2 separate regions of the Homo sapiens genome follow, and region 1 is linked to region 2. The links are contacts of gene promoters, found by promoter capture Hi-C in human tissues and cell types (Jung and others, 2019). All regions are on one chromosome and are shown on one strand. The core of a region is centred on a gene start or on the middle of the fragment in contact, and the rest is flanking DNA. Distances in the headings are between cores, read along the strand shown.

Evidence for each region. Contacts are between HindIII fragments. The study calls those that stand out against the background at their distance.
Region 1: a contact is called between a fragment that was not itself captured here and the fragment with the promoter of IFNA8 in region 2, in 1 of the 25 tissues and cell types used here (lymphoblastoid cells).

What each region holds. Positions count from the first base shown.
Region 1 is chr9:21,230,871-21,235,561 of GRCh38, reverse strand. It overlaps the pseudogene IFNWP5. Among named protein-coding and RNA genes, the nearest start is that of IFNA17, 5.0 kb to the right of the region's middle. The HindIII fragment of the contact is 6,389 bases long and covers 1-4,691 here.
Region 2 is chr9:21,405,555-21,410,625 of GRCh38, reverse strand. IFNA8 (interferon alpha 8) reads right to left here and starts at 1,509. Exons shown (of 1, transcript NM_002170.4): 1 at 441-1,509. The coding sequence starts at 1,449. The coding sequence ends at 880. The HindIII fragment of the contact is 21,883 bases long and covers 1-5,071 here.

The sequences.
Region 1 (4,691 bases), core at 1,141-3,640, 180 kb after region 2:
GAACTTCAAGGGAATTTGATTTGTGATCTCTCTATCAAGATTGTGGAAGCTTTCATAGACTATATCCTGAAATACATTTTCCAAGTTGTTTGTTTTCTCCCTGTCTCTTTAAAGGATGGAAGTGATTCCTAGATTTGGCCTCTTTATACCACCCCCTATTTCTTGGAGGTTTTGTTCATTGCTCTTCATTCTTTTTTCTTTATTTTTGTCTGATTGTCTTATTTCAGAGAGCCAGTCTTCAAGTCCTGAGATTCTGTCCTCAGCTTGGTCTATTCTGCTGTTAATACTTGTGATTGCATTGTGAAATTCTTGTAGTGTGTACATCTACTAGGTCCGTTAGGTTCTTTTTCATACTGGCTATTTGGCTATCAACTCTTCTCTCTTTTGATTGTGATTCTTAGTTTCCTTGGTTTAGGTTTTACTGTTTTCCTGAATCTCAATGGAATTCCTTTCTATCCCTATTCTGAATTATATTTCTGTCATTTTAGCTAACTCATTTTGGTTAAGAACCCTTGTTGGAGAACTAGTGTGATTATTTGGAGGACATAAGATGCTCTGTCCATTTGAGTTACTGTAGTTCTTGCATTGGTTCTTTCTCATCTCTGCATATGGGAGTGTAGCTTGAGTTCAATCAATAAAGAGACTTATTTTCTGGCTGTGTTCACAGGGCTGTAGCTTTGTGCAGGGTCTTTATTTGTAGCTGACATGTCTTTGGTTGAATGAGGGTGTGTTAGTGAGATTTGTTGGTGTTGAAGCTTTGGGCATGACCTAGTAGGTGACTCTTAGGTGCAGTGGTCAGTTGTCAGGCTCTTGCTCAGTCATGGGGCTCACCTACATTTCCTCACGGTTGTACACGTGCTCCATCTCAATGCTTTGAAAGTTTGGGCTCCTCTCCCACTTGAGTGCTGACTGTACCTTGTATCTTGGCACTCCCAGGCTGCCCACAACAGCTCTGGGGTGATCTCAGGGTTAATGTTTTCTCCCCAACTTGGAGCCATCGAAGGAAGGGACCTTAGTAGTTGTTGTAACTGAGGGTCTTTTGCTTGTCTCCGGGGGGCTCCACCACAGAGAAGCAGGTCAGCAGTCACTCAGTGCAATCAGCGTGGGATGGGAGTGTGTCCTGTGGGCCCAAGCCAGGGGTTCCCTGCCTGGTGATGTGAGGGGTGGGTGATTGACCAATGGCAGACAGACTGGCCTCCTCTCTTGGGTTGACGGCAGCTTGTTGGAGGTATGGATAAGGTACTTGAGGTCTCTGCTCCTTCATCAGTTCCAAGGTAGCTGGGGTAGTACCACTGCAGAGGCAGTGGTAGACAGGCTTTCTGTTGCCCCTGGGGTCTCCACCTCCAAGAAATGTGAAGCCATGTTAATGGCAGTGTTTAGCCAGAGGAGTGGGGTGGCTGCACTGCTGGTGTAAGCTTGGGGCTTCACTTTTTGGGTAATAGAAGGTGGCAATCTTACCAGGAGGAGAGACTGTTCTCACCATATGGTAACTGCAGTGTGCTGTAAGTTCATGTGACAGTGGCTTGCTGCAAGCTCGTAAACAAAGAGCTTCAGACTCTTTGTTTCTTCCCCAGACCCAAGGCAGCAGGGATAAAACTGCTGCTGTGGCAGTGGCAGAGGTAGGATGGCTGTGGGAGCCTCTCCCCAGGGAAACTCCAGGCAACTACCAGTGGATATGCTCAGCTATGGGTAGGTTGACTGTTTTGCAGTCATGGGCTGGGGGCCCTGCCTCCTGAAGAATAGGGATGCAGATTCTCAGGGAAGAAAGGCTGGACTCCTCTTTGTATGGTGGCTATGGTGTGCTGGAGGTGAGAGTGTAGTGACTAGGCCCTTTGTTCCTTCCCCAGCCAGAGGGCTGCTGGGGCTGTCCCACTGCAACAGTAGTGGTGGATGGGTTGTGGGTTGACTGTAGGATTTCTTCCTTTGAGAAATGCTGGACTGCCTGATTGAGGAGATGAGGCAGGGGAAGGGTGCCTGTGCTGGAGTCTGGTCAGGTGGATCTGCCCACAGAGGAGAGGTGACAACCAGGAACTGTATGGAGAACAGTATGGTCACTCTTCTGTGAGGCAGTTGCTCTGTTTTGGGGATCTGGACCAGCCACTGTTCCCTACAGACTCTCCAGAGCCTGGAGACAGCAAGGGCAAGAGCTGTGAGAAAGCAAAGATGGCAACCCACCCTTCTCACTGGGAGCTCTGTTCCAGGGAGATGCAGAGCTGTCATTGGCTCAATAGCCCCAACTGGTAGCTGCAGACCCAAGCCTGGCAGACCCACCCAGTGAAGAGAGAGGGGATCACGGACCGACATAACACACAATCTGGCCACTTTTCCATAGGGCTGCTGCAATATGCTGGGGGTCCAATCCAGACCATAGTCACTTCACATTTTTCAGTACCTGAAGATATCAACAGTGAAGGCTATGAAACAGTGAAGATGAGGGCCTGCCCCTCCCCCTGGGAGCTCTGTTCCAGAGAGGTACAACCTGTTGCCTCCTGCAACATACATGCAGGAGGTGGCTGGAGACCCCGGTGGGGATATCTCACCCACTGAGGAGAAACAGTATCAGGGACTCAGGTGAAAAAACAGTCTGGCCACTTTTTGGTAGAGCAGCTGTGCTGTGCTGGGGGTCTGCTACCACCGCCAGCACGAAGAATGGCATTTTCAAGAATGGCTAAGGCTGCTAAACGGCAACAAAGGCTACCTACCCTTCCCTTTGGGAGCGCCATCCCAGGGATATTCGAAACTGCGGTCCACTAGAAAACAGTGGTGGAGGTGACTGGAGACCCCAGTGGGGAGATTCCACCTACAGAAAAGAAACAGGATTTGGGATCGATGTGAATAAGCAATCTGACTGCTTCTCTGTAGAGCTGCTGGGCTGTGCTGGGTGGCTGCTCCAGTCCCTAGCTGCCTTGGACTCCCTAGAACACAAAGGCTCCAATAGCTAAGGCTGTGAAACAGCAAAGATAGCAGCCCACACCCTGCCGGTGGGAGCTCCATGTCAGGGAGGTGTGACGCTGCTACCAGTGTCTGGCTGGATTCCCAAGCCAGTGGGTCTTACCCTGAGACAGGCCATGGAAGGTGGGCCTGCCACTTGTCACTGCCCAGCACCCTGAATGAAACCCCTTTCCTAGGGGTATGTATAGGGGTCTAGCGTCCTGCTTGGCTGGAGTTATAGCTTCTTTTGTGGGGAAGCCTGGGTATCTAAGGCTCCAGGGTACCCATGCATGCCTGAGCAGCTGCTCTGCTGAAACCCTACGTAGCCCTGCATGTCAGACTGAAGGCTCTGGTAGAGTGGGTTCACTAGGAGATCTCCTGATCTGAGGATTGCAAAGATCCGTGAGAGAAGCATGGGTCCCCAGGGCTGCTGACTTACCACTTCCCTGGGAAGGAGAGGCTCCCCTGGCTCTGTGACACTCCTTGGTGGGCAGTCGTCCTGCCTTGCTTTGCTCTGTTCTCCATGGGTCAAGCTGTTGAGTCCCAATGTGTGTACCTGGATGTTTCAGTTGAAGGTGCTGTATTTACTTGCCCCTTCCATTTCTCTCCACGAGAGTGGCACACACTAGCAGCTTCTAGGTGGCCGTCTTGGCCAACCCTGAAAACTATTTGTTTCCAACTATAAGCCATGCATAAAAAGAATGCCTTGAGAGAACCTGGAGTCCAGGGTTCATCCAGACCCCAGCTCAGCTAGGCCAGCAGCACCCTCGTTTCCCAATGGTCCTACTGCTTCTACTGGTGGCCCTGCTGCTTTGCCACTGTGGCCCTGTTGGATCTCTGGGCTTTGACCTGCCTCAGAACCATGGCCTACTTAGCAGGAACACCTTGGCTCTTCTGGGCCAAATGCAGAGAATCTCCACTTTCTTGTGTCTCAAGGACAGAAGAGACTTCAGGTTCCCCCTGGAGATGTGGATGGCAGCCAGTTGCAGAAGGCCCAGGCCCTGTCTGTCCTCCATGAGATGCTTCAGCAGATCTTCAGCGTCTACCCCACAGAGTGCTCCTCTGCTGCCTGGAACATGACCCTCCTGGACCAGCTCCACACTGGATTTCATCTGTAGCTAGGATGCCTGGAGTCTTGCTTAGGGCAGGCAATAGGAGAGGAAGAATCTGTAGGGGTGATTGTGGCCCTACACTGGCCTTGAGGAGGTACTTCCAGGGAATCCATGGGAATCCAGAGAATCTACCTGAAAGAGAAGAAATACAGTGACTGTGCTTGGGAGGTTCTCAGAGTGGAATCATGAAATCCTTCTCTTCATCAACAAACTTGCAAGGACTGAGAAGTAAGGATGAAGACCTGGGGTCTGCTTTAGTCTTTCTTATTTTCTTCCTCTTCCTTACTATGTGTTTATTCCTTCTTTTTCTAGTTCCTTAACTTGTAAAGTTAGTTCATTCGTTTGAGGTCTTTCTTCTTTTTTAATATAAGCTTTTACAGCTTTCATTTTCCCCTCTACCTCTGTTTTCATTGCATCACATATGTTTTGGTATGTTGTGTTTTCATTTTCATCTCTCTCAAGATATTTTCTAAGTTCCCCTCTGGGCATTTTTTTTTTACTATACTTTAAGTTCCAGGGTAAATGTGCTCAACGTGCAAGTATGTGCCATGTTGGTTTGCTGTACCCATTAACTTGTCATTTACATAAGGTATTTCTCCTCTTACATGTTTATCACTTTTAGACCTACATTTGTTTTCTTTTTGTGCC
Region 2 (5,071 bases), core at 260-2,759:
TCCCTCGACACTCTCTCCCCACATGAGATCCTCCATTTCTGGGCTTTCAGTTACTGCATATGAACCTCTAGCAATTGCATTCCTTATTAATTGCAAACTCATATATCCAACTGGTAGTGCACATTTTCACTTAGATGTCTACCAGTTAGCATATAGAGGATATCTCTGCGTTTATTTTTATTTCCTCACATGCCTTGGTCTACCTTCTGGTGAGATAAATTCATTGGTTCTTTCTTCTCATGATAGCATTAGACATAACTGATATTAAGTATGATTACTGTTTTTAGTTTTCTTTCCCAACAAAAAACAAAGATATGAGAGAGCGGGAATTGTATTTGTTATGTTCACCTGGATATCTTGAGGGCAACATACAACCTAATTTAGACAAAGTTCATTTTTACTTATAATTTGAATGTAATAAGCATGGATAAAGGAATTGTACCATCCATTCTTTAATCAGTTTGCACAATCAGGGTTGGAGTTCAATTTTAAAGAATAAATAAAGAATTTTTCTATAGTAAAAATTTAATAAACAAGGCAAAATAATAAATATAAAGAACATGTTTTTGTTACACAATTCACAATGTAAAAGTTCACATAATATAATATGAACAAAACTAATTTAAGCCCTATAGATAGTTAACTAAATAAAGATTTAAATAAATAGATGAATAGATCCATCAGCATGGTCATCTGTAAGGGACTAGTGCCCATACAGCTGAACAGGATGTTGCTTAACACTCCTGAAAACACTTGACACATTTGATTCAATTCATAGCATGGTTTTGGCAGAAACAAGGGTCTTTGAAAGAGCACAACTTGTCGAAGTGTGAGCTGCTGTATTAGTCTATAAGAATCATTTCCGTGTTGTACCAGGTCTCATTCCTTACTCTTCAATCTTTTTTGCAAGTTGATTGATAAAGAGAAGGATCTCATGATTTCTGCTCTGACAACCTCCCAGGCACAAGAGCTGTATTTCTTCTCTGTCAGATATAGAGTGATTCTTTGGAAGTATTTCCTCACAGCCAGGATGGAGTCCTCGTACATCAGGGGAGACTCTATCACCCCCACTTCCTGCATCACACAGGACTCCAGGTCATTCAGCTGCTGGTCAAGTTCGATGTAGAATTCATCTAGAAGGGTCTCATCCAAAGCAGCAGATGAGTCCTTTGTGCTGAAGAGGTTGAAGGTCTGCTGGATCATCTCATGGAGGACAGAGATGGCTTGAGCCTTCTGGAACTGTTTATCATCAAACTCCTCCTGGGGGAATTCAAAGTCATGTCTGTCCTTCAGGCAGGAGAAAGGAGAGATTCTTCGCATTTGTGCCAGGAGTATCAAGGCCCTCCTGTTACCCAGGCTGTGAGTCTGAGGCAGATCACAGCCCAGAGAGCTGAATGACTTGTAGCTGAGCACCACTAGGGCCACCAGTAAATAAAAAGTCAAGGCCATTGTAGATGTTGTGGATGCTGCTGAGCTGGTTCAGATGGATGACCCTTAACCTGGGTCTCTGAAGACTTTGGTTTGTACACCGCCTTATATAGGGAACATATTTGTTTCCATTTTCTGAATGCTACTGCATTTTTTTTTTCTACTTCTGTTTTTGCTTTCCTTTATGTACTCTCTACATGGGCTTAGGAAAGTGTTTCTCAACCAGTTTTCTTTTCATTACTGCATTCCCTTTCTCAACCTCCAGAGTCCTGTTTGATAATTTTTTTCTAAGTAAACCCCTCCTGATAATTTAATAACACAGATATATTATGCACATATTTGAATGTACTACATTCCTATCCATGCTTTAGAAAACAAAGTGGACAGTTTACTTTTTTATGCAATGCAGCATTAAGAATAAGTAAAAATTTTATGTCAAAAGTTAAATTTAAAAGCTATTGGCATTTAACTTTATAAAAGTTATTTGCTGAGTGACTTCTAGTATATATACTTATATAAATATTAATGAATCAAGTGAAACATGCAAAGTTATAATATATGAAAATATATAATACCAATATAATAAAAATACTTATATAAAATATGTAATATCAAAAAAATAAAAATACTTAAAAATCTCCCAAAACTGCTAAGGGGCTATTTAAAATTAAATTATTCCTGTAACATTTAATTTATTATACTTAACTTTTAGCTTTGCTTCATATAGAAAATGATTTTTACCTTCACTAACTGCTAGATTTTCATCCAGATATAGTCAACATATTTTTCTTTTCAGCACTTCCTATAAGTAGTGATGTTTGAAAAAGTTTTATACAATTTAATCATAAAATAAAAACATTTGTATAAAAGAGTATAATACACTTGAAAGCACTGAGGATCAAACATAAGCTACATACCCAAGACAGCCAATGGCAGCCCATTCATATGCCGATGGAGACCACATCACATGGTATGACTCTGAGATTGAGCACATAGTGGAAAGTCCACCAGTGACAACCATCTATTTCACATTGGTTTGCAACACTAATCTCACATACATTTTGTGTATCTTCCATGAACTCAATATCAGTCTTTTCATGTAATACATAAGAAAACCAAGTGAAAGAAAATAAACACTACAGGATAGGGTTGTCTTAGAGTTCTGCATTGAGGGGCCATAAACGAATATAATATCTACAATTTGTTCACACCACAAGAACTAAGGTTTGTGCCCTTAGGAGCAATATCATCCCCAATGAGAATACACAATTGAGAAAACATCAATTATATTTTTCAAAACAATTTTTGCATTAATGTTTAGATTTCCCAAAGAACCTGGGGACATCCCAATTCTAGTTCATTCTTATAAAATAAAAAAAGCCATCTGTTTCCTAAGGTAAATAATAATATCTAAGTATGATAAAGTAAATGAGGTGTGCAATTGTTGTACATAGCATGCAGGATACCAGATATCTTTCTCATTTCCTTTTTCACAGAAAGCAAAAGTTGTTGCTTTTTGTATCCCAATAAATGAGAGCAAAAAGAAAACAAATGTATAACTAAATGTGATAAAAACATAAGAATGGAAGTAACATCCCAAAGGAGAAAAACAACTAACAAAATATAACTTGGATATTCAGCCCAGATTAGATGGACATTAAGGGGTGAGGAAGAGCAGAAGCAAAATGGTGCAAGAGATGTAGAACAAAGGTAGCAAATGGGCAGGAGCTCAAAGAAAAGTAATCATTACTGGTCCAAGGGGATGTTTTCAGCTTTAGTGAATTCAGCCTTACTAGACAGTTGAGGGTGATGAACCAAACATAAGACACTGTGCACCAGAAAGGCAAATTTGTAAGAGCACAATATTCTGTCTGTAGAATGGACAAGTATAATTATCTCAAGTTCTCCACTAGTAGACAGATAAACTCAGAAGATCAGTATATTGCATGTTATCTGTTGTGATGGTTAACATTGAGTGTTATCCTGATTGAATTGAAGGATGCAAAGTGTTGTTCCTAGGTGTGTCTGTGAGGGTATTGCCAAAGGAGATTAAAATTTGAGTCAGTGAACTGCGAGAGGCAGACCCACACTCAGTCACTGTGGGCACCATCTAATCAGCTGCCAGCATGGCTAGAATTAAGTAGGGAGGAGAAGATGGAAGAGGAGACTTGCTGAGTATTCTGGCCTTCATCTTTCTGATGGATGCTTCCTGCCTTTGAAATCAGACTCCAAGTTCTTCAGCTTTTGAACTCTTGGACTTACACCAGTGATTTGGAAGGGGGTCTCAGGCCTTTGGCCACAGACTAAAGGCTGCACTGTTGACTTCTCTACTTGGGAGGTTTTGGGACACGGACTGATCCACCACTGGCTTCCTTGCTCCTCAACCTGCAGACAGCCTATGGTGGGACTTTACCTTGTGACCGTGTGAGTCAATTCTCCTTAATAAACTCCCTCTTATATATAAACATATCTTCTTAGTTCTGTCCCTCTGGAGAACTCTGACTAATATATCTATCTAACAAGAAGCCAGGGAATAGATGATCTCAAAGGAAACTTATCTTGACTTAAAAGGACAATAATGATAACACTAATAAGAAGAATAAAAAGTTGCTAAATTTTATCATGTTTGCTATCAATCAGATATTGTTCTTAGCACTTACAAAAACTATTTTCACTTCATTCAATGAGAAATACCCTCATTTTCATTTTTATTGAACATCTACTATATGCCCATCCCTACTTAGTTGCTAGAGATATCAGTGACCAAAGCAGACACTGACAGGTTGTACTGTTGTCCTTTTTTACAAAAGGAAAACCCAGAAGCACAGGGAGCTATTGAGTTGTGGAGCTACAGTTGGAACCCAAAACATCTGACTCTAAATCCTCATTTCTTACATGTTCCCTGGGAATTATTTCTGGCCATAAGACCCAGAGCTGGTTTCTAGACCCCGGTCAATGTTTTCTTAGTACAGTTCTACATAAAGAAGGTCACGGCCTTTCTTTTCAGCTCCTTCACCCTCTCCCTCACTGAAAAGCCCTATTTGTTTATGCCTGATATGTTACATTATAATAAAGATGGGCCCCAATTTATTTACATGTTATATACTAGTTTTGTTTTTTTGAGAATGTATATTCATAAACTTGAATGTAGTTGCAAAACTCTTTGTTCACCCTAGTAATATATCCATAAACAACTCCGTAAAAACCTGCATATTTCTATCCTTTTATTCAAATATCCGTAAGGCCTTAGATTTCTATCTTAGCCCAAGTTTAAGACTAAGCAATGACAAGCTAGAGACATGAGCTAAATCAGAACTAAACCAATGAACTAAGGCTCAGAGCTCAGGGAGACCACATCTAGAAGGGCTCACTAAAAGGATTAAAAGTGGGAATGGAAGGTCTTCTGGAGAAATGAGGAGAGTCCAGTGTATTATAGGAGGAGGACTGTGATACCAAAGTCTCTGAGTCACCTGACTTGCCAGCTGGTTGATGCCTTTTATGTTGCAGGCCAGCAGAGTTTGCTGCTGAGTTAATTTTACCACTTGTTTTGAGAAACCGGGCAAACATGATGGGCAATATATGGAGAGAACTAAAGAAATGGGGTTGGAAAAAAATAACGTGTTTGCATAGGTGGAAAGATACT